5 separate regions of the Homo sapiens genome follow, and all the other regions are linked to region 1. The links are contacts of gene promoters, found by promoter capture Hi-C in blood cells and fetal thymus (Javierre and others, 2016). All regions are on one chromosome and are shown on one strand. The core of a region is centred on a gene start or on the middle of the fragment in contact, and the rest is flanking DNA. Distances in the headings are between cores, read along the strand shown.

What was found. The method cuts DNA at HindIII sites, captures the fragments that hold promoters and counts their contacts. A CHiCAGO score of 5 or more calls a contact.
Region 2: a contact is called between a fragment that was not itself captured here and the fragment with the promoter of ATP1A1-AS1 in region 1, in 13 of 17 cell types (non-activated CD4 T cells, naive CD4 T cells, total CD4 T cells and 10 more). The highest score is 16.6, in non-activated CD4 T cells.
Region 3: a contact is called between a fragment that was not itself captured here and the fragment with the promoter of ATP1A1-AS1 in region 1, in 1 of 17 cell types (non-activated CD4 T cells). The highest score is 5.0, in non-activated CD4 T cells.
Region 4: a contact is called between a fragment that was not itself captured here and the fragment with the promoter of ATP1A1-AS1 in region 1, in 6 of 17 cell types (naive CD4 T cells, non-activated CD4 T cells, total CD4 T cells and 3 more). The highest score is 13.8, in naive CD4 T cells.
Region 5: a contact is called between a fragment that was not itself captured here and the fragment with the promoter of ATP1A1-AS1 in region 1, in 3 of 17 cell types (non-activated CD4 T cells, naive CD4 T cells and total CD8 T cells). The highest score is 7.0, in non-activated CD4 T cells.

What each region holds. Positions count from the first base shown.
Region 1 is chr1:116,416,713-116,420,783 of GRCh38, forward strand. ATP1A1-AS1 (ATP1A1 antisense RNA 1) reads right to left here and starts at 1,910. Exons shown (of 3, transcript NR_027646.1): 1 at 1,747-1,910. RefSeq lists an enhancer at 1,735-2,029 and a silencer at 1,989-2,118. The HindIII fragment of the contact is 1,476 bases long and covers 1,040-2,515 here.
Region 2 is chr1:116,168,121-116,172,191 of GRCh38, forward strand. LOC124904384 (a long non-coding RNA gene) reads right to left here and starts at 720. Exons shown (of 2, transcript XR_007066496.1): 1 at 496-720. RefSeq lists silencers at 343-452, 1,517-1,700, 3,088-3,382 and an enhancer at 653-742. The HindIII fragment of the contact is 6,818 bases long and covers 1-4,071 here.
Region 3 is chr1:116,187,529-116,191,599 of GRCh38, forward strand. No RefSeq gene overlaps it. Among named protein-coding and RNA genes, the nearest start is that of MAB21L3, 78 kb to the left of the region's middle. The HindIII fragment of the contact is 2,338 bases long and covers 1,083-3,420 here.
Region 4 is chr1:116,236,009-116,240,079 of GRCh38, forward strand. No RefSeq gene overlaps it. Among named protein-coding and RNA genes, the nearest start is that of MAB21L3, 130 kb to the left of the region's middle. The HindIII fragment of the contact is 5,307 bases long and covers 1-4,071 here.
Region 5 is chr1:116,256,675-116,260,745 of GRCh38, forward strand. No RefSeq gene overlaps it. Among named protein-coding and RNA genes, the nearest start is that of ATP1A1, 110 kb to the right of the region's middle. The HindIII fragment of the contact is 1,112 bases long and covers 1,136-2,247 here.

The DNA of each region.
Region 1 (4,071 bases), core at 660-3,159:
GCTTGCAGCTGAATTCCCTAACCAAAGCCTGTCATGTGTGGTGCCAAGCTCACAAATTCAGCATGCATCTACTATGTGTTTGCAATGACTAAAAGGTTACAGAAGGCAGCCTGGATTGCGGGGATCGGGGATACTTAGAAAATACGTTCTGCAAAATGTTGTATTAGAGGTTCTGAAAATTAAGATACAGAAAACATTTTACTTAATGAAGAAAATAGGGTAAATATGTTCAAAGGAGTATAGTTGTTAAAAGCAAACTGTTTAGAGTCAAGATCAACCCAGATTCACTTTCTGGTTCTCTGCAGCTTACTAGCTGTGACCTTCAACAAGTCTCTCTTAACCTGAGTCTTAGCTTTCCAATATGTAAAATGGACACAGCATTGTGAGGGTGGTTGGGAGGATTAAATGAGATCAGAGAATTTAGCACCATGACTGTAAAGAGAAAGGGCTCTACAAATGTAGCTGGTACTACAATTCACTTTTTTTTTTTTGAGACAGGACCTGACTGTCACCCAGGCTGGAGTGCACTGGCATGATTACAGCTCACTGCAGCCTCGACCTGCCAGGCTCAAGCCATCCTCCCACCTCAGCCTCCAGAGTAACTGGGACTACAGGCATGCGCCACCACATCCTGCTAATTTTTATATTTTTTGTAGAGATGGGGTTTTTGCATGTTGCCAGGCTGATTTCAAACTTCTGAGCTCAAGCCATCTGCCTGCCTTGGCCTCCTAAAGTGTTGGGATTATAGGCAAATGAGCCACCACGCCAGCCCACAATTCACTTTAAACACAAGTGAAACACATTTCATTAGACAGTGGAATAGACTTATGTCAATTTTCTTTTCTCTCTTATTTTACACAGTCTGATTTCCTGAAGACAGGAGGCGGGAGTAAGCTAATCAGGCCCTGAGTTAGCTGTTTCCAAGAAGCTTAGAGTGTCCCACTTACCTACGGGTTGCAGGGCCCGCATTGCCAGTAGGGCTGGCTTTTAGGGATGCTGCTGTTGGTGTGTGCTGTACTTGTTTTCTAGGATTGGGACAAGCTTCCTTGAGCTCCTGACTTTAGAGACCAGGTTTGGGAACTGATGGGTGCAGCAAATGCAAACAGACAGCAAACAGGCCAAAGAGGAGATTCATTCACTGAAGAGGGCCCTGGTACAGTACTGTCGAGGTTTTGCGGTGGCCTGGACACGGCTGGCTCCTTCGACTTACACAATATATCTTCTCTCTCTCTTACCTGCACTTATAAGAATCGGTGCTAAGGGTATGTGCCTACCACAGTGCAGCTTGTAGATTAATGAAGAAAGAATTGCTGCCACTTCCCAAATATTAAACGCCAGGTTCTGCCTATGCATATTCTCTCAACCTTCACAACACACCTACTAACTCCAGCTTACAAATGAGGAGACGAACCAGCAGGCTGTTCCAGGCGTCTGGTTGTAAGAGCAGTGGCAGTAGAGAAAATGATTTATTTTAGCACCAGCCACTGTGCTAATCCCTTTAGATATCATCTCATTTAATCCTTTTAACAACCCTGAAGCACCATCCTTATTCTAAAGGGACTTCGGACCTCTCTGCGGTCCACACTGTCCCCTGCTCGGTGCAGGAGTGTAGACTGGGACTGTTCCGTCTGGTGGTCTCCCCGACAAGGGTTCACCTGGAAACTGGCCTTTGGGCTGGGATTGGGACTCTGTACTTAGGCTGGCAGCCCATATTAGGACTGGGCACCGTGATAAGCACTTTCTTACCGCAAATGCACGATTTCACTCGGCCCTCACACACCCCACGAGGTGGGCACCGTCACAGTGCCATCTCACAGGCAAGGAGGCCAGGCCCAGGCCCTGAGGATGCGCCGCTCAGGTGGGAGCTTCCGGGGAGCTCGCGCGACAGCCTGGGGGAGCGCGGATTCGTCTCTGCGCTACGGCGGCTGCAGAGGGTCAACCCGCGGAGGCGGCGCTTCGCGGCGGGTCCTCGGCCTGAGGCTGTGGGATGCCTCCAAACCCGGCGCGGCCTCCGTCTGCAAGGAGAGCAGAGGGTCCCCGCCGGGAGCGCGCCCGGCTGCGGCCCCAGGCGGCCCTGCCCGCAGCCGCCACCTGAGCTTGGGCGCGGCTCCTATCTCCCACCCGCGCGTCGGCCAGTGAAGGGCTCCGTGCTTAAACATCATTCGTTACAGAAGTATTGCGGCCATCACACGGCATTTTAAAAACACGAATGATGATAAATAACTTTAACACTGCTTCCAATTCTGCCTCCAAGCACAGCATCATTACCATTTGCATGCGTTTCACTTCATTCGATTTCCATGTGTATGGATTTGTTTCTACATAGCTGTGGTAAAACGCACATACTAAACTGAATCCAGGGTTGTTTTCCACTTTGTAACATGAACATTTTCACCGTGTTAGTACTGACGCTTCCTACCTATAATTTTTAATGGCAGGACTTTAAAAAATTGGGTTGATACGCTGTCACTTCTCTGAGCATCTCGCAAATGTTCAACATTCAAGTGGCTTCCAAAGCTTCACGATTATAAATTATTCATTCTTTTTTGTTTTGTTTGGTTGTTTGTTTGTTTGTTTGTTTGTTTTTTGAGACGATGTCTCGCTCTTGTCGCCCAGGCTGGAGTGCAGTGGCGCGATCTCAGCTCACTGCAACCTTCGCCTTCCAGGTTCAAGAGATTCTCCTGCCTCAGCCTCCTGAGTAGCTGAGATTACGGGCATCTGCCACCACGCCCACCTAATTTTTGTACTTTCAGTAGAGACGGGGTTTCATCATGTTGGCCAGGCTGGTCTCGAACTTCTGACCTCAGGTGCTTCTCCCTCGACCCGGCCTCGGCCTCCCAAAGTGCTGGGATTACAGCACTTTGCTGCCCAGCCCATTCTTGTGTATAAAGTCCTTTCAGTATTGAGATCAGTTTCCTTAGGTTATATTCACAGGAGTGAAACTGCTAAGTCAGAATGTGAGCATTTAAAAGCTTTCAGTATTATTGCCAAATGGCTTTTCACAGATGACTCAGGGAGGTTTTGGTACTTGGAACACTGCTACTTATATCCCACTCCCCCCCCCCCCCACCAGGAAAACATCTAAAGTGCACTTTTTTTTTTTTTTTTTTTTTTTTTGTGAGACGGTATCTCGCTCTGTCGCCCAGGCTGGAGTGCAGTGGCGCGATCTCCGTTCACTGCAAGCTCCGCCTCCCAGGTTCACGCCATTCTCCTGCCTCAGCCTCCTGAGTAGCTGGGACTACAGGCGCCCGCCACCACGCCCGGCTAATTTTTGTGTTTTTAGTAGAGACGGGGTTTCACCGTGTTAGCCAGGATGGTCTGGATCTCTGACCTTGTGATCCGCCCGCCTCGGCCTCCCAAAGTGCTGGGATTACAGGCGTGAGCCACCGCGCCCGGCTAAAATGCAGTTTCATTAAGAGATAGTGACCCTTTCTGAGAGTGTCTACATTTAATTGGGATCAGAGCTTGAAGTTGAAAATTTTGTGCCCTGGGACTTCAGACATCAGAAAACAGGGTAGGAAGATTCTCACGGGTTAGGATTTTTCTGGTGACCCTGAGTGGGGGAGCCACTTATTCTGCCTTCACTTAAGGCTAAACTAGACTCCCGGCCCTGCGTAGAGTTCTGAGGGACACCAGGGTCACAAGGCTAGTGAGACAGAGTTCATTTGGAAGAAGTGAAATAATTTAGGAATTCACAGAATATTGATGATGATATCCTTCCTCCTCCAGATGACAAGGTAATAAAGAATAATGAGATGTGATCATGGGAAATAGCCACCATGAGCAGCAGCCACCAAGGCACATAAATACTGTGGAATTGACTCTGCTGTCAGCTTGTGGGTTTCTGGAGTGACAGATTAAACCAAACTCAGTCCAGCTTCTTGTTTACTCTGTGTAAATCTACTCACTGTCCAGAATCTTCAGGCCGGTGTTGCCACCACTTGTTCTGTCTGTGATTCCCAGTGATGAGTAGGAGGTGACCAGCAGGCAGACTGTCTCCCTATGGGTAGGGAGCCTCAGAGTTCTGCAGGGACTGGGGTATAGGTAGAAGATGAAAAAAATATCCTTTCT
Region 2 (4,071 bases), core at 1,043-3,542, 250 kb before region 1:
GAGAGAAGAAGGAAGAGAAGGTGGGCAGAAAGGGGGCAAGATGAAGCGGCAAGGAGGAGGGAAAGGAGAAGCTAAGGAGGGAGGATGGGGAGGCGGCGACAATGGCCGCGCTACCGGTCGCCCACTGTGCTGCGGTGGGTCGGGGCCCACTGCCCCTCGCTGGGGCACCTGGGGAGGGGGCGCTGGGGCACCTGGAGAGGGCGCGCAGGAGCAGCGGGCCGAGCCTTCTGCGGGGATGGGGTGGGAAGAGAAGAAATGAAGACACAGAGGAGTAGAACAAAGAGGCGGGAGCACCCCGCCAGGGGACCGGGAAGGGTCGAGGAAAACTGCTGCCGCGCCCCACTGGGTTTTAACAACGCCCGGGATGGGGGAAGGGCTCCCACTTGCGCCCCAAGCGCATGCGGAGAAGGTTCGGCAGCGCCTCCTGCCGGCCGCCCGGAGGGTCCGCGGTGGCGCCAGCCCCGATCGCAGCCGCGCAGGCCCGAGGGCCCCTACCCGCACGGTGAATTGTCTTCCACGCACTAGTATTTTCTCCTCGCTTTCAACTGAATGGCGGCATTGGTTTCACTATTTCCTTCCTGGAGCTGTGGTTGAGGCCGACTGTCCCAGCTAGAATGAAATATTATTGTACTCTAGCCTCTGTCTCTGGTTTGGGATTTGAAGATTTCAGAAAAGATGCATTCTCTCATAATTAATGCAGGTGGCTGTCACTGCGGCCACAGTTGGCCCCAGGCAAAAGAGCACAGACTGAGAAATTGAGGTGAGGGAAAGGAAGTAATAAACACAGCCTAGATAGACGGCAAATGAAACCTTGCTTAACCTACTGCTGAGTACAGGAGCCAGCGGGGCACTGCACCGTCCCCCCTCCACTACTCCACCAACCCTCTACCAAACGCTTTGTATATGTCTCCTCACTTAATCCCCAGAGTCACCCCGTATATTAGCTAGTATTAGCCCCGTTTTACGGATCAGAAGACTACAATTTCAAGAGGTTAAGTCACTTGCTCACAGTCACACTGCCAGCAATAAGAAAGGCTCACATTTGAACCTGGATCTGACTTTGCAGTGTTTTCCTGTCTCCCAGGGAACGCTTCCTTACACACCGCCCCTCTTGATTCCTTCCCTTGGGGACCCAGCATTCCCAGTTTTCTCCTCACCCTCGTTTCCCTACCTCATCCCTAGCCCAGCCTCAGGCACCCATCTGCCCTCTCTAGCTCCACGTCTGCATTGCAATATGTTCTATGAGGAGGATCTGGAACTAGTTCATACCGAGGTTTCAGTGACTGATAGGCACTTAAAGGACCTCCCACCCCCCAAAGAGTTATCTTTAAAGTAGAATCTAAGCCTCCAGTTAGACGAAGTTCTTAAGGACATTGATTCAAGCAAGAGCCAGGAAAGTGGAGCAGTGCTGTGGGTGCAGCAAACCCTACAGGTGCTCCCCAACCCCATAAGCAAGGTCCACTCCTTCTGTGAGCGTTAGCAGATGAGTCTGGAGGGGCGGTGTGATGGGCCCTTAGTTGAGAACCTACTGTGTGCCTGGTACATACTGCCACACACTTCACAAATGTTACCCCCTTTATTCCCCGGAACTATCCATGAGCTGGTTGCAACTTTTCTCTGTTTCACAGAGGAGGGAACCAGGGCCTGCTTAGAGATTCAATAACTTGCCCAAGGAAATGCTGCTAGTAAGTACCTAAATTGATATTTAAACCCATTCTTTCAATCAGTTATTCAGTAAGCATATTTTCTAAATTTTTCTTCTCAAAATTTTTTTTAGAGACGGCTTTTTCCTTTGCTTCCCAGCCTGGAATGCAGTGGCACAATGATAGCTCATGGTATCCTTGACTCCCTGCGCTCAAACGATCCTCCTGACTCAGCTTCCTGATTAGCTGAGGCTACGGGCATGTGCCACAAGGCCCACCTAATTTTTTTTTCTAGCATTGGGGTCTTGCTATGCTGCCCAGGCTGGTCTGGAACTCCCAGTCTCAAGCACTCCTCCAAGCACTCCTCCAACCTCGGCATCCCAAAGTGCTGGGATTACAGGTGTGAGCCACCGTGCCCGACCAAGCACATTTTTCAATCTTTAAGTACTATTTGGCTGTCTGAAGCCATGGAAATGAGATATAATTCTTCTCTCCCTCACTGCTTTTGCTCCCAAGGGACCAAATGGACATATCAACAAATCACTATAGTGAGGTGTTTCAGGCTAGATGTTGTTTGGAGTACCGTGGGTGGGCCATAAACACTAAATACACAGTTCTTCCTAAGGGCAGGAGGTAAGAGAACTATGGAACCAGGCCTGTCCCATCCCCTCCAGAAGTACTGTGGTGTGGGGGAGGGGGCCACAGTGGCTTCAGATGGGACCTCTTAAGAAGTCCCTTGACTCCCCTCCTGTGGGTCTTCTGGCTTCACTGTGGCATCCGGAGATTATTAGATCATTATAAAGTGCTTGCATTTCTTGGTATATTTGGGCAGCTTAATGTATAGGAATCATAATTTTTCTTTGCTTTTCCAGTTCAACAGAGGATGGTTTTAAAATATACTTGACTTGAAGAATAAGGATGAAAAATAAAATGTGGGAGCCTGAGGTAAAAATGGAAAATAGATGAAACTCAAAGTATTTTCAAGGTGTCTTTTTCTCTGTGTTTCTATTTTGCAGGTTTTAAAAGCAGAATTAAAGTGTAAAGTAGAGGGAAATTTCTCTGATGCAGCATTTACATAAGAAACACATTCAGAAAAAGAGGCTGTGATTCTGAACGCGTCCTTATTATACTGCACTAAAAATCTCCCTTGGGATGAGGGAGGTTTAAATTAGTTGGAGAGAGAAGGAAATAAAATCCTCTTTTTCAAAATGCAAATCTCTCCCAAACTAAAAATTCTACCTTAGGAAATGGCCACACAGGGTTCATGAGCAGACAAAGCCCTCATTGTATAAGGACCCCACCTTCTCAAGCCTTCAGCACAATTCACCGGCTTTTCCTACATCTCCTCCACAAGTCCCAACATAGAACTTGGTGCCACATCACAGACCTCAGTAAAATTCACAAGGAGGTTCTTGTTTTTAGTTGTTGTACATTTTGCTGTGGAAATGTATCCACAGGCCATTTTAGTTGACTTGAGAAATCAAAGTTAATGGGAATAGCACAGAATGTCATGCACCTCCACAAGCCCATATTATGTATGTGTGTATTTGCGTATATTTTCTCCAACATCTGTCAATATTTGCATGCTAAACTGCATAGAATTTCACAGACAAGTATAATGCCATTAACATCATGTGCTAGTTAGCTATTGCTACATAGCAAACAACCTCAAACTTAGTGGCTTAAACAGCAACTTTTTTTTTTTTTTGGGATGGAGTCTCACTCTGTTGTCAGGCTGGAGTGCAGTGGTGCGATCTCAGCTCACTGCAACCTCCGTCTCCTGGGTTCAAGTAATTCTCCTGTCTCAGCCTCCCAAGTATCTGGGACTACAGGCACATGCCACCATGCCCAGCTAATTTTTGTATTCTTAGTAGAGACGGGATTTCACCATGTTGGCCAGGATGGTCTCGATCTCTTGACCTTATGATCTGCCCTCCTCGACCTCCCAAAGTGCTGGGATTATAGGCATGAGCCACTGCACCTGTCCAAACAGCAACCATTTTATTATGTATCATGATTTTCTAGATCAGGAATTAGGGCAGGGCTGGGCTGGATGATTCTCCTGCTCCAGAGTGACACAGGTTGGGGTCACTTGGTGGTATTCAACTAGTGGTGAGGCGGGTCTGGAGGGCCCAAAACTGTTTGACTCACATATCTGGCACATTGGCTGGGATGGCTGCAAGGCTGGAGTCCATGGGTCCCTCTCTCCATGTAGACTCAAGGCCTCTCCTCGGAGTCTCTCACACACCAATTTACTGTGCCCGTAGCTGGCACATTGTCACTTCTTCTGCAGTTATTATTGGTCAAAGCAAGTCCCAGTGTAGCCCAGAATCATGGGGAGGGGAAATAAACCCCATATCTCTAAGGGACACCGATCAAATAATTTGTGACCATCTCTAATCCACAGTACCCAGTATCAATAAATTTT
Region 3 (4,071 bases), core at 1,002-3,501, 230 kb before region 1:
CATCCCCACCTCCCCCTCCACTTTGTTCCACTACCCTTCCCAGCCTCTGGTAACCATCCTTCTATGCTCTATCTCCATGAGTTCAGTCATTTTAATTTTTAGCTCCCACAGATAAGTGAGAACGTGCAAAATTTGTCTTTCTGTGCCTGGCCTATTTCACTTAATTTAATGGTATTCCTTGGTTGTCTTTGCTTTCACCTGCCATTTCCCTCACCCTCTCAACCCTCAGCCCAGCATCTGAGAAAGGCCTAGAGTAGGAATTTATGTTTAACACGCATTTAATAGGCACCTAACTTGTATCGGCACTAAAAGCACAGTGATGCACACACTCCCAGCCTTTGTGAAGCTTACAGCTGGCTGATGGAGAACAACAATTAAACAAGCAATAACAATCAAGTGTGGTAAGTTCCATCCAGTTCCATTAATGTTGTTGTAAATGACAGGATCTCATTCTTTTTATGGCTGAATAGTACTCCATTGTGTATTTGAACCACATTTTCTCTATCCACTCATCTACTGATGAACACTTAGGTTGTTTCCCATCTTGGCTGTTGTGAACAGTGCTGCAGCAAGCATGGAAGTGCAGGTATCTCTTTGGTATATGGATTTCCTTTCTTTGGGGGATATACCTAGTAGTGGGATTGCTGGATTGTATGGTAGCTCTATTTTTAGTTTTTTGAGGAACCTCCAAACTGTTCTCTATAGTGGTTGTACTAATCTACATTCCCTTTTCCCCACATCCTTGCCAGCATTCATTATTGCCTGTTTTTTTGATACAAGCCATTTTAGCTGAGGTGACCTGATATCTCATTGTAGTTTTGATTTGCATTTCTCTGATGATCAGTGATGTGGAGCACCTTTTTCTATACCTATTTGCCATTTGTATGTCTTCTTTTGAGAAATGTCTATTCAGATATTTTGCCCATTTTTAATCAGATTATTAGATTCTTTCCTATAGAGTTGTTTGAGCTCCTTATATATTCTGATTATTAATCCCTTGTCAAACGGATAGTTTGCAAATATTTTCTCCCATTCTGTAGATTGTCTTTTCACTTTGTTGATTGTTTCTTTTGCTGTGCAGAAGCTTTTTAACTTGATGTGATCTCATTTGTCAATTTTTGGTTTGGTTTTCTGTACTTGTGAGGTATTACTCAAGAAATTTTTGCCTACTCCAAAGTGCTAGAGAGTTTCCCCCAATGTTTTCTTTTAGTAGTTTCATAGTTTGAGATCTTAGATTTAAGTCTTTAATACATTTTGATTTGATTTTTATATATGATGAGAGATAGAGGTCTAGTTTCATTCTTCTGCATATGTATATCCAGTTTTCTCAGCAGCATTTATTGAAGAGACTCCTTTCCCCAATGTATGTTTTTGGCACCTTTGTCAAAAATGAGTTCACTATAAATGTATGGATTTGTTTCTGAGTTCTGTGTTCTGTTCCAGTGGTTTATGAGTCTGTTTTTATGCCAGTACCATGCTTTTCGGTTATATAGTATAATTTGAAGTCAGGTAATGTGATTCTGCCAGTTTTATTCTTTTTGCTCAGGATAGCTTTGGCTACTCTGAGTCTTTTGGGGTTACATATGCATTTTAGGATAGTTTTTCTCTATTTCTGTGAAGAACGTTATTGGTATTTTGATAGGGATTGCATTGAATCTGTAAATTGCTTTGGGTAGTAAGGATATTTTAACAATATTTATTCTTCCAATCCATGAACATGGAATATCTTTCCATTGTTTTGTGTCCTCTTCAATTTCTTTCATAAATGCTTTACAGTTTTCATTACAGAGATCTTTCATTTATTTAGTTAAGTTTCCTAGGCATTTATTCTATTTGTAGCTATTGTAAATGGTGTTTTTTTAATTTCTTTTTCAGATTGTTTGTTATTGGCATATAGAAAGTTACTTTTTTGTATGTTGATTTTGTATCCTGCAACTTTACTGAATTTATCAGTTCTAATAGTTTTTTAGTTTAGTCTTTAGGTTTTTCCAAATATAAGATCATATCATCTGCAAACAAGGGTGATTTGACTTCTTCCTTTCTAATTTGAATGCCCTTTATTTCTTTCTCTTATCTTATTGTTCTATCTAGGACATTCTCTACTACAGTGTTGATTGGTGTTTAAATTGTTATAGCATTGAGGAAAAGGTATGGGGTGAGTCATTTGGCAGTACTGTACCTATCTAAATTCAAAAGTGCGTAACCTTTGACCCTTGCAATTCCACCTACAGGAATTTATACTTTAGAAATTTGACCTAATTGAAATGTGTGCATGCACACACACACGTGCATGCAAGGACGTTTACTTAAGTATTGCTTAATTTATTAAAAAATAGAAATAACCTAAATGATCTTCAATAAGAGAAAAATTTAATAAATGATGTTTCTCCTGATCTATTAACTATGATTCAGTGGTCAAAAAGAATGAAAAAGATATTATGGTACTGACATGGATAACTCTAAACAATACATTGAAAGTGAATAAAGGAAATTTCAGAACATTTAGTCTATTTTATTCCCTGTTGTATTCTCAGTGCCCAGAGCAGTCCTGGGCACATGGGATGGCTCAAAAGTATTTGTTGCGTGGATATGTGTAGTATGACCCCATTTATATGAATGGAATCATAGCAACTATAAAATCTTTCTCTCACATAAATACACTCGTTTTAAACCCAGGTTTTGGGGTAGTGTATGAAAAATAACAGCTCTGGGTTCAAATCCTAGTTGTCACTTACCAATTGATGGCTCTGAGAAAGTTATTTACCTTCTTTAAGACTCATGTTCCTCATTGGTAACTAAGGCTAATAATAATACTTCATACCTTATAAAGATACTGGGAAGATTCAAAGACAACTGTGTGTTCGTCACTCAAGAACACCTTCATCACCCAAAGCATACCTGATACTTTGCCGTTGCTCACTGAGTGGTTGTTATTTGTATTCTCAATCTCCCTATATTTTCTCTGTATCACATTGGCTACCTAGGAATCTTTTGGTGTGAAGTTAGAGATAACACATTCAGAGTTTTCTGAGATGTAAATGAACTTCACTGTGGCCTTCTGTGGGAGATTTTGCAGGACAATAACCCATCAATAGAGCCTTGGTTATCTTTGCCTTCACCTGCCATTTCCCTCATCCTCTTATCCCTCAGCCCAACATCTGAGAAGGGCCTATAGTAGGAGTTTATGTTTAGTACACATTTAATAGGCATCTGTCATGTATCAGCACTAAAAGTACAGTGATGCACACACTCTCAGCCTTTGTGGTGCTTACAACTGGCTGATGGAGAACAACAATTAAACAAGCAATAACAATAAAGTGTGGTAAGTGCTATGACTGGGTTGGCCATGAGGAGTTAGGAGAGCATTGGCATGGCTTCTGATCTAGCTTAGGAGATCAGAGGAAGTGAGGGCCAATCCCAAGCTTGAAAGCTGATTAGGAGCTAAAGGGGCAGGGAGGAGCTAAGGAGAAGAAAAGGGTTTCAGATGGGGATAACTAGTTATGAAAAGTCTTATTTGAGAATGTGAGAGAATTACAATATGGCTGGAGCTCTCAGACGAGAAGTGTGGTTTAGCAAGAAATAAAGCTAGCCCAGGCACAGTGGTACACACTTGTAATCTCAGCACTTTGGGAAGCCATGGCAGGTGAATTGCTTGACTCCAGGAGTTCAAGACCAGCCTGGGCAACATGGCGAAATCTTTCTCTGCAAAAGCTACAAAATTAGCTGGGTATGATGGTACAGGTCTGTAGTCCCAGCTACTCGGGAGGCTAAGGTGGGAGGATTCCTTGAGTCCAGGAGGTTGAGGTTGCAGTGAGCCGTGATAGCACCACTGCACTCCAGCATATGTGACAGAGTGAGACCCTGTATCCAAAAAAAAAAAGAAAGAAAGAAAAAGAGAAAGAAAGAAAGAAGGAGGAAAGGAAAGGAATAAAGAAAGAAAGAAGAAAGAAAAGAAAGAAGCAAGAAAGAAAAAAGAAAGAAACAGAGAGAGAGAAAGATAAAGAAAAAAAGAGAAAGAAAGAAGAAAGAAAGAAAGAGAAGGAAGAGAAAGAAAGCAAGCTAAAAAGTAGG
Region 4 (4,071 bases), core at 1,044-3,543, 180 kb before region 1:
AAGTGAGAACATATAGTGTTTGGCTCTCCATTTCCGAGTTACTTCACTTAGAATAGTGGCCTTCAGCTTCATCCAAGTTGCTGCAAAAAAACATTATTTTGTTCCTTTTTATGGCTGAGTAGTATTCCATGGTGTATATCTACCACATTTTCTTTAGCTACTCATTGGTCTTTATCCACTCATTGGTCGATGGGCACTTAGGTTGGTTCCATGTCTTTGCAACTGTGAACTGGGCTGAAATAAACATACATGTCCATGTGTCTTTTTCCTAGAATGACTTCTTTTCCTTTGGGTAGATACCCAGTAGTGAGATTGCTGGATCAAATAGTAGATCTATTTTTAGTTCTTTAAGGAATCCACTGGAGCATTTTTAATTAAAGTAGAGGCATGATCAGATTTTCAGAGATCTGCCAGTGGTACAAAAATGGGGAAGACACAAAATAGGGGAACCAGTCAGGGGATAATTACATACATAGGTAAGAGAGGTAGTGCTGGTTCATTTATTTTAATTGCTGTATAGCATTCCATTGCAAGACTATACCACAATTTACTTATCTATTCTCCCACTGAAAGATATTTAGTTTATTTCCAACTGTTAAATATTACAAAAATCCCTTAATGATCAGTTTTGTCAGTTTCTCCAAGTACATATATGAGAGTGTCTAGTGAAATACCGACGAATGGGATCGTCAGGTCATGGAGTAGGAGTGCCTTCAAGTTTACTAAATTGCCAAGTTGCTGTCTCCAAAGTCACTGCAAAAACATCTACTCTTGTCAGTATTTTGTGAAAGTTACTATTGTTCTACAATCTCAACACTTGGACATTATCAAAAATTGAAATTTCAATTTTTGATACATGGAAAATTGTATCTCACCGTTGTTCTAATTTTTATTCCCAAGATTGTTGGTGAGGTTGTATATCTCTTCTTATTTCTCTTGGCCAACACAGAGGTTTCCTTCTCTGTGAATTCTGTATATGTCTTTTGCCCCTTTTTCTAGTGGGTCACTTGTCTTATTTCGTTAATTTGTAGTTTGTCTTGAATTTTTGTATTCAAATCCTTTGTCGGCTATATGCTTTGCAAAATTCTTCCCACCTGTGGCTTCTCTTTTTGCTTTGTTTTATGGCACCGTTTATTATATGGTGTACTAGTTTCTTCATGCTACTTTGACAAATTACCACAAACTTAGTGACTAAATCAGAAAATGTATTATCTTCTAGTTCTGGAGGTCAGAAGTCTGACTTGGCTTACACTGGCTTAAAATCAAGATGTGGGCTGGGCTGCATTCCTGCGGGGAATCAATTTCCTTGCTTTTTCAGCTTCTGGGTGCCTACATTTCCCGGCTTGTGGCCTCTCCCTCCATCTTCAAAGCCGGCTACATAGAATCTCTCACTCTGACACTCCTGCTCCTCCTTTTTCAGGATATTGGGCCAAAAGTATTAAATAGTTCACTTTCCTACCAATCTGCTATGACATCTTTATCATATAGCCAGCTTTCATAAATGCATGGGTTTGCTTCTGAGCTCCGTCTTATGTTCTTTTAATTATTTATACCCTTGTTTCTCAAAGTGTGGTCCATGAACCAGCAGCACCAGCATCACCTGGCAGCTTGTTAGGTCTCAAGCCCCACCCCAGACCTTCTTAATAAAGGATCTGTGGTTCACAAGATCTCCACAAGAGTCACAGTTGGAGCATGAAAGTTTGAGAAGCCCTGGTCTACCTGATGCTTTTGAAATCTTAAATAATATAACTTTATATCAAGTATCAATACTTAGTAAGTCAAGTTCCCTCTTCGTTCTTCTTCGTGTAAAATTCATAGTTTAACTCGGGAAGGATTGGAAATCTTATAATAATCTAAGTTCATAAGTTTGTCATATTTCTTCACTTATTTAGGTCTTTTTAAATGGTTTTCAGTAAATTCTGATAATTTTCTTTACAGGGGTCTTGCTTAACTCTTGTTGTGGGTTTTATGCATACGAGCCTTATAGATTTCGTTGCTGTTGAAGATGGTGTTTTTAAAAATTACCTTTTCTAATTGGTGCAGATATATTGGATTACAATGTGTATATTGATCTAGCAACCTGGCAGACAGTTTTTATTAGGGCTAATAGTGTTTCTGTAGACTCTCTTGGCCTTGTCTTTTTTGTAGATAGTAAAATTGCCCGTGAATAATAATAGCTTTGTTCCTTTTTTTCCTGTCTTTTCAACTTTATTATTCTTGTGTTAATCCACTAGATAGGATTTTTCAATATAATGATGAGTAGAAGTAGTGAAGCAGAGATAGTCTTGATCCTAAACTTAAGGGAAAATTATTTTCATATTTTCAACATTAAAAGCAGTAATTTTTTGAGGGATATACTTTATAAGGCTAGAAAAGTATTCTCTTTTCTCGTTTGCCACAATTTTTATAAAATTAGAAATGGATATTAACTTTTATCAAGTGTGTTTTATGTGTCTACTGAATTGCCCAGTATGCATACAAAGTGGGCTGAAAGGGAACCCCTTGCAATGGCAATTATGTTAGACTGGAGAGGCTATGGGGGTTATTTTCATTATTATTCTGTTTGTAATACAGTTACATTGCTTCCATATTTGAAATACTTCCTTCTTCAGGGTACCCAGTTGGAGTGTTTCAGGATCCAAATGAAATATATTTTTCTGTACCGAGAATATCAGCCTATTGAGTGATGTTAAGGAAAGGATATCTACAGGCCAGGTGCAGTGGCTTATGCCTGTGATCCCAGCACTTTCGGAGGCCGAGGTGGGCAGATCACCTGAGGTTGGGAGTTTGAGACCAGCCTGACCAACATGGAGAAACCCCATCTCTACTAAAAATACAAAATTAGCCAGGTGTGGTGGCATATGCCTGTAATCCCAGCTACTTGGGAGGCTAGGGCAGGAGAATCGCTTGAACCTGGGAGGCCAAGATTGTGCCATTGCACTCCAACCTGGGTGACAAGAGCGAAATTCCATCTCGAAAAAACAAAAGGAAAGGATATCTACAAAAATTCAGATCACATAAGCTCTCACATATTTAAAAAGTATTTATTGAACACTAATTATATTCCAGACACTGTGCTAGAAGCAAGGATTAAAAAACTGAGCAAGATCAGGCCCCTTTCTCAGAGAGGGAGCATTGTGAGGTGCTTAAAAGTCCTAGAACCAGAGTAACATTTTACAAGCAGTTGATCTTGCGTAAATTACTTACTTAAGCTCTTTCAGTTTCAATTACCTCATGTGTAAAATGATAATATAAAATAATAATAAAGCATTCTAATGAATTTGGCAGTGATTAAGAGGTCACTAATATTTCTACTTAAACAATAAGGAAAATATATCTTCTCACATACAAAGAAATTGTGATACACCTTGGTTGGTTACTCCAATCATCAATGGACTCAAGGACTCAAATATTTTTTATTTCTTGCTTCTGACATTTTCTTTCTGTCTCCTTATTCCCAGCTAGTTCCCCTCCTGCTTGCAAAAGTATTTACCAAGGTCTCTGCCATCAAGAAACTTTCAAAAAGTGCCTCACCTTCCTCTAACCATTAAACTTCTCTTCATCGTTCACTGACCAGAATTGTATGAAATGTCCATGCTGAACCTAATCAACTCTAAGAGAAATTAGATCACAGTAATTGGCCCCAACCAATTACTGTGATCTAATTTCTCTTAGAGTTGGGAGGTATCTTTCCTTGAGGAAGACCAGTAGACATCCAAACAAAATTAGAGCTCTGACAGCCATGATGAAATGAATGGGCTATGTGGTAAGTGCGGTATTATGACATATATATACTCTGGTTTTCATCCATGGTCCCTGGCTCATAACTCCTAAAGCCCTTGTTGCAGTCTTTTGCTATAATGTTGGAGTGCTTCAGGCCTCAGAAGAAGGCCTCAGAAAACAGACTCTCTCTCTCTCTCTGACTTTCTCCTGCCCTCCTTTCCTCCTTTCATCTTCCCTCACTTTTCTGTCTTGGAGCTGGCCATGAAGAAATTTTCCTGACCTACTTGTCTGATTGTAAACCATAAGATCCTCATTTCAGAAAGGGTCCTGCCCCATGCCCAGAAGGAA
Region 5 (4,071 bases), core at 442-2,941, 160 kb before region 1:
TGTCATCTGCTCCATGTTGCTGTTGAAAGCTGGGCTTGCCAGAACCCCTTGGTCCCTGTCCTAGCCTTCCTTGAGGGTACAGTTCCCACTGGGCTGGCCTCTAGCCCCTCCACACCTACGTCACAACAGTGATGGTCATTTCTGAAATAAATAGAACAGGCATGAAGACAGTGGAGTCTAGCTAACCTGTGGCTGAGAGACATAATGAAGTAATTATGTGTTCACTTTTAAAAGGTTCCCAAGGCTTCTACCAGGGCTGCAGGTTGAATGACCAGTAATCCCTTAGGGTGCAGTTAAGATACCTGTGTCTGGGACAAAGACTTCCAAGTAGAACAGGCCAGCCGACTGCTAGGCTGGGTTGGATGGGACCAGTCCTCTCCGGCTGGGATCCTGGGGAGCCTTTCCCTGCCTTATCTCCTGGTTCACCACTCTGTACCAAGCATTCATATCTCAGTGACCCCACCCAGCTGTGCCAGAGGGAGAGTTCCCTAACTGCTGCTGTTTGGACAAAAATCAGGCAAAACCAAGCCCAATGCATCAATTTTATGCCCGTCACTGCAACCAAGTCACATTTGAAGGGACCCCAGCTGGCTGGCACCTGCCCCTCCCTCCCTCTGAGTTTTAGAGTTGAGGAAACTCTCATAAACCTTCTAATGCTGGGACTACACATTTTATTGTAATCATAAATAGAACATAATACCACAACAGGTGCACTGGGATGCTTGCTTAAATAATAAATGCAGTCAGCTTTGTTGCCTATTCACCCAGTCCTTCAGGTGCCTGAACAGCTGTGGGCTAGGGGTGGTGGAAGCTTCTGCCCAGGGTTGTATTGCTCAGGGAGAATCAGAGAGAAAATGTCCTTACCTTGAACTCAGGTTGTACAGTGTGAATGCTGACATACACCGCAGTTCTTCCACACCTATGTGGTGTGGGGCCCAGTTCGAATACCAGCTGTGTGTCGTGGAAAGACCATTTAACCACACTGAGTCTGTTTTCTCACTTGTGAAACTAAGATGCTAGAATTTAGGGTAATTCTGATGAGTAAATGAGTCAGGGAGTGTGGTTCTGGGGCCTGTGTTCCCTCTGTCAAAATCCACTCACTCCCTGGGGCTGTGATCGAGAAATCTGCCCCTGAAGCTTGTCCTTGGTCAGAGAAGCCCCCTAAGGGTTAAAAGACAATTATGGACCACTTCAACCCACTAGGATAGTGCTTATTAAAAAATAAAAAAGAAAGAAAGAAAAGAAAAACCTAGAAAATAACAAGTGTCAGTGAGGATGTGGAGAAATTGGAAACCTTGTGCACTGTTGATGGGAACGTATGATGGTGCAACCTTTGTGGAAGTTCCTCAAAAAATTAAAAATAAAGCTACCATATGATCCAGCAATTCCACTTCTGGGTATTTACACAAAAGAAGTAAAAGCAGAAACTCAAGGAGATATTTGTATGTCCATGTTCATAGCAGCGCTATTCACAATAGCTACAACATGGAAGCAACCCAAGGGCCCGTTAATGGATGAATGGATGAAAACAATGTGGAGTATAGTTCAGCCTTAAAAAGGGAGGAAATTTTGACATATGCTACAACATGGAGGAACTTTGAGGACATTACACTAAGTGAAATAAAATAGGCATGAAAGAACAAGTACCGTACTCATACAGGACTGTACGCACTCATTCAAAGTAACTACAGTGCTCAAAGTCACAGAGACAGAAAGTAGAATGGTGGTTGTTGGGGGTTAGGGGGAGGAGGGAGGAGGAGTTGCTGTTTAACGGGTACAGAGTTTTAGTTTTGCAAAATGAAAAGAGTTGTAGAGATGGTGCGCACCATGATGTCAATGTGCTTAACATAAGTGAACTATGGTTAAAATGGTAAATTTAAGGATATGTGTATTTTACCACAATAAGAGAGAAAGAGAATTGTAGAGCACAATGGAAGTGACAGTTGAAGGAGTCTTCAACCAGTGCAGGCACTTTCATTTGTTTTATTTCCTCTACAGGTGTAGAAAATAATAATACTATAGTAAATGCTATTGAGCATTAACCTGGCTTTGCCCATATCATCACCTCCAATTTTTATAGCAATCCAGTTAAGTAGGTAGCATCATCCCCAGTTAACATTAGGAAACTATGGTTCAGGGGTTGGGTAAGAATGGAATGAGTTATGGCATTAGCCAGCTACTTCCTGGTACAGGGCTTCAGTGGTCATGACGGTGTGTACTAGGCTCTGGGGGCATACATGTACTTGAAGCTTCTTTGTGGTCTCTGGAAACTCTTGGTCATATTGAGAAGACATACGCAGTGAGAAAGGCTCAAACTGGAGCCTTGAGGGCACAGGAAGGTGGAATCACCGAGACTTGGGAGTTCATAAAAAGAAGCAAGCACTGAATTGGCTGAAAAGGGGGAAGTGTTGAAGGGCCTAAATTCTGGGGGACAGAAGGTAAACAGTAGATTTAGACGGAAAATATTATTTATTAGCAGGAAAAAAGTGAAGTGCAATTACAAACAAGATTTCCTAATGTGGGTATGTGGGTAAAAGGTCATCAGGCTGGGAAAGCCAATGTAGGGATTGCAATTGGAAGCACATTCAAGTCCAGGTAATAATAGCTAATACTTATTGAGCCCGGCTTGTGTGGCAGGTACTGTTCCAAACTCTTTACATACATAATGCATTCAATCCTCACAACAACCCAATGAGGTAAATCTTATTCATTGCACTCACTGTATAGATGAGGAAACAGACTCAGAGAAGTGAAGCGATTTAGTCCAACATCGCAGAGCCAGAGAGTAGCAGAGCCAGGATGCAAATTCAGAATGTGGACTCCAGAGCCCTAACACCCAACTCTGACTCTGTGGGGTGATCACAAACATGAGTCTTTATTATTTAACCAAAATTTTTTGTGCTTGGTCATAGACATGATGAGCAACCTTGTTCGGTCAGAAATTAATATTTTGAGAATAGTTGCTGATATTTGTGTTTTGTGCATAACACTTATCACAGATGCTTACAAAAAGCTGGTAGACTTTTTGTCTACCAAAAAGTATGAGGAGCTGTAAAGGTGGGAGGGCTTCTCTATGTTCCTGCTCAGAGCCAGTAACCATGGCAACAGTAAATTATAACTTCACTGCTGCAGACCCACACAGCTAGCAGAGATTACAATAGATGGTCACTGAGATCATCAAGGACCTAAGTTGGTCAGGATGTGGTCGATTTAAGTGACAGAAACCTAACTCAAACTAGCTTAAGCAAGAGGACAAAAATCTGGCTTATCAAACACATTTCAGGAACAGCCTGGAGTGGAACCAGCTTAGAAACACACACTGTCAACAGAGACTTCATAGACATCGGTCCTCAAGACCCCACCCTAACTTTAGGTCACATTTTCTTTAAATTTCCCCAAAGACCATTTATGTGAGAATTATTTAGAGAAGTGGGGCAGAGGAGTGCATTAAGAATGTAAATTTCTGGAGGGGATTCTTGATCTACTAAATCAGATTCCCTGAGCTTGTGGCCCAGGAATCTGAATGTTAAACATTCTTCCCAGGTAACTTTTGCAAGTCTTAATGTGAGAACCACTGCCTAGGTTATAACAGCAACAAGGCATATCATGTGACCTGTTCCTTTGTCACACTGTTGCAAGGAACCATGTCCCTTTCCTAATATCTCAAGTATTTACCCAGTAGTGTGATTATCTGATTAAAGCCATTTTTCCCCACCCGACTGTAGGGTTCATGAGAGCAGAAACTACATTTGTTGGTAAAATGCCCTCCATTGCATCCCCATTGCCTAACTCAGTGTCTGGCATATAGTGAGTGCTCAATAAATATTTATTAAATGAATGAATGAATGGATGTACTTTAGTCCACAGAGTTGCTCTCACATTCTTTTCTCACTTAACCCACACAACAAGCTACAATGAGGTAAGTAGGCTAGACATTATTATTACCATTTTTCAAGCAAAAAACCTGAAACCCAGAGAGAGACTCCCCAAGTCAGGTACTAAGTGGTCTTTCAATTCTCTTTTTATGTCTTCCAATATGATCCTTCAAACAGGGTGGCAAAATAGCCGGCC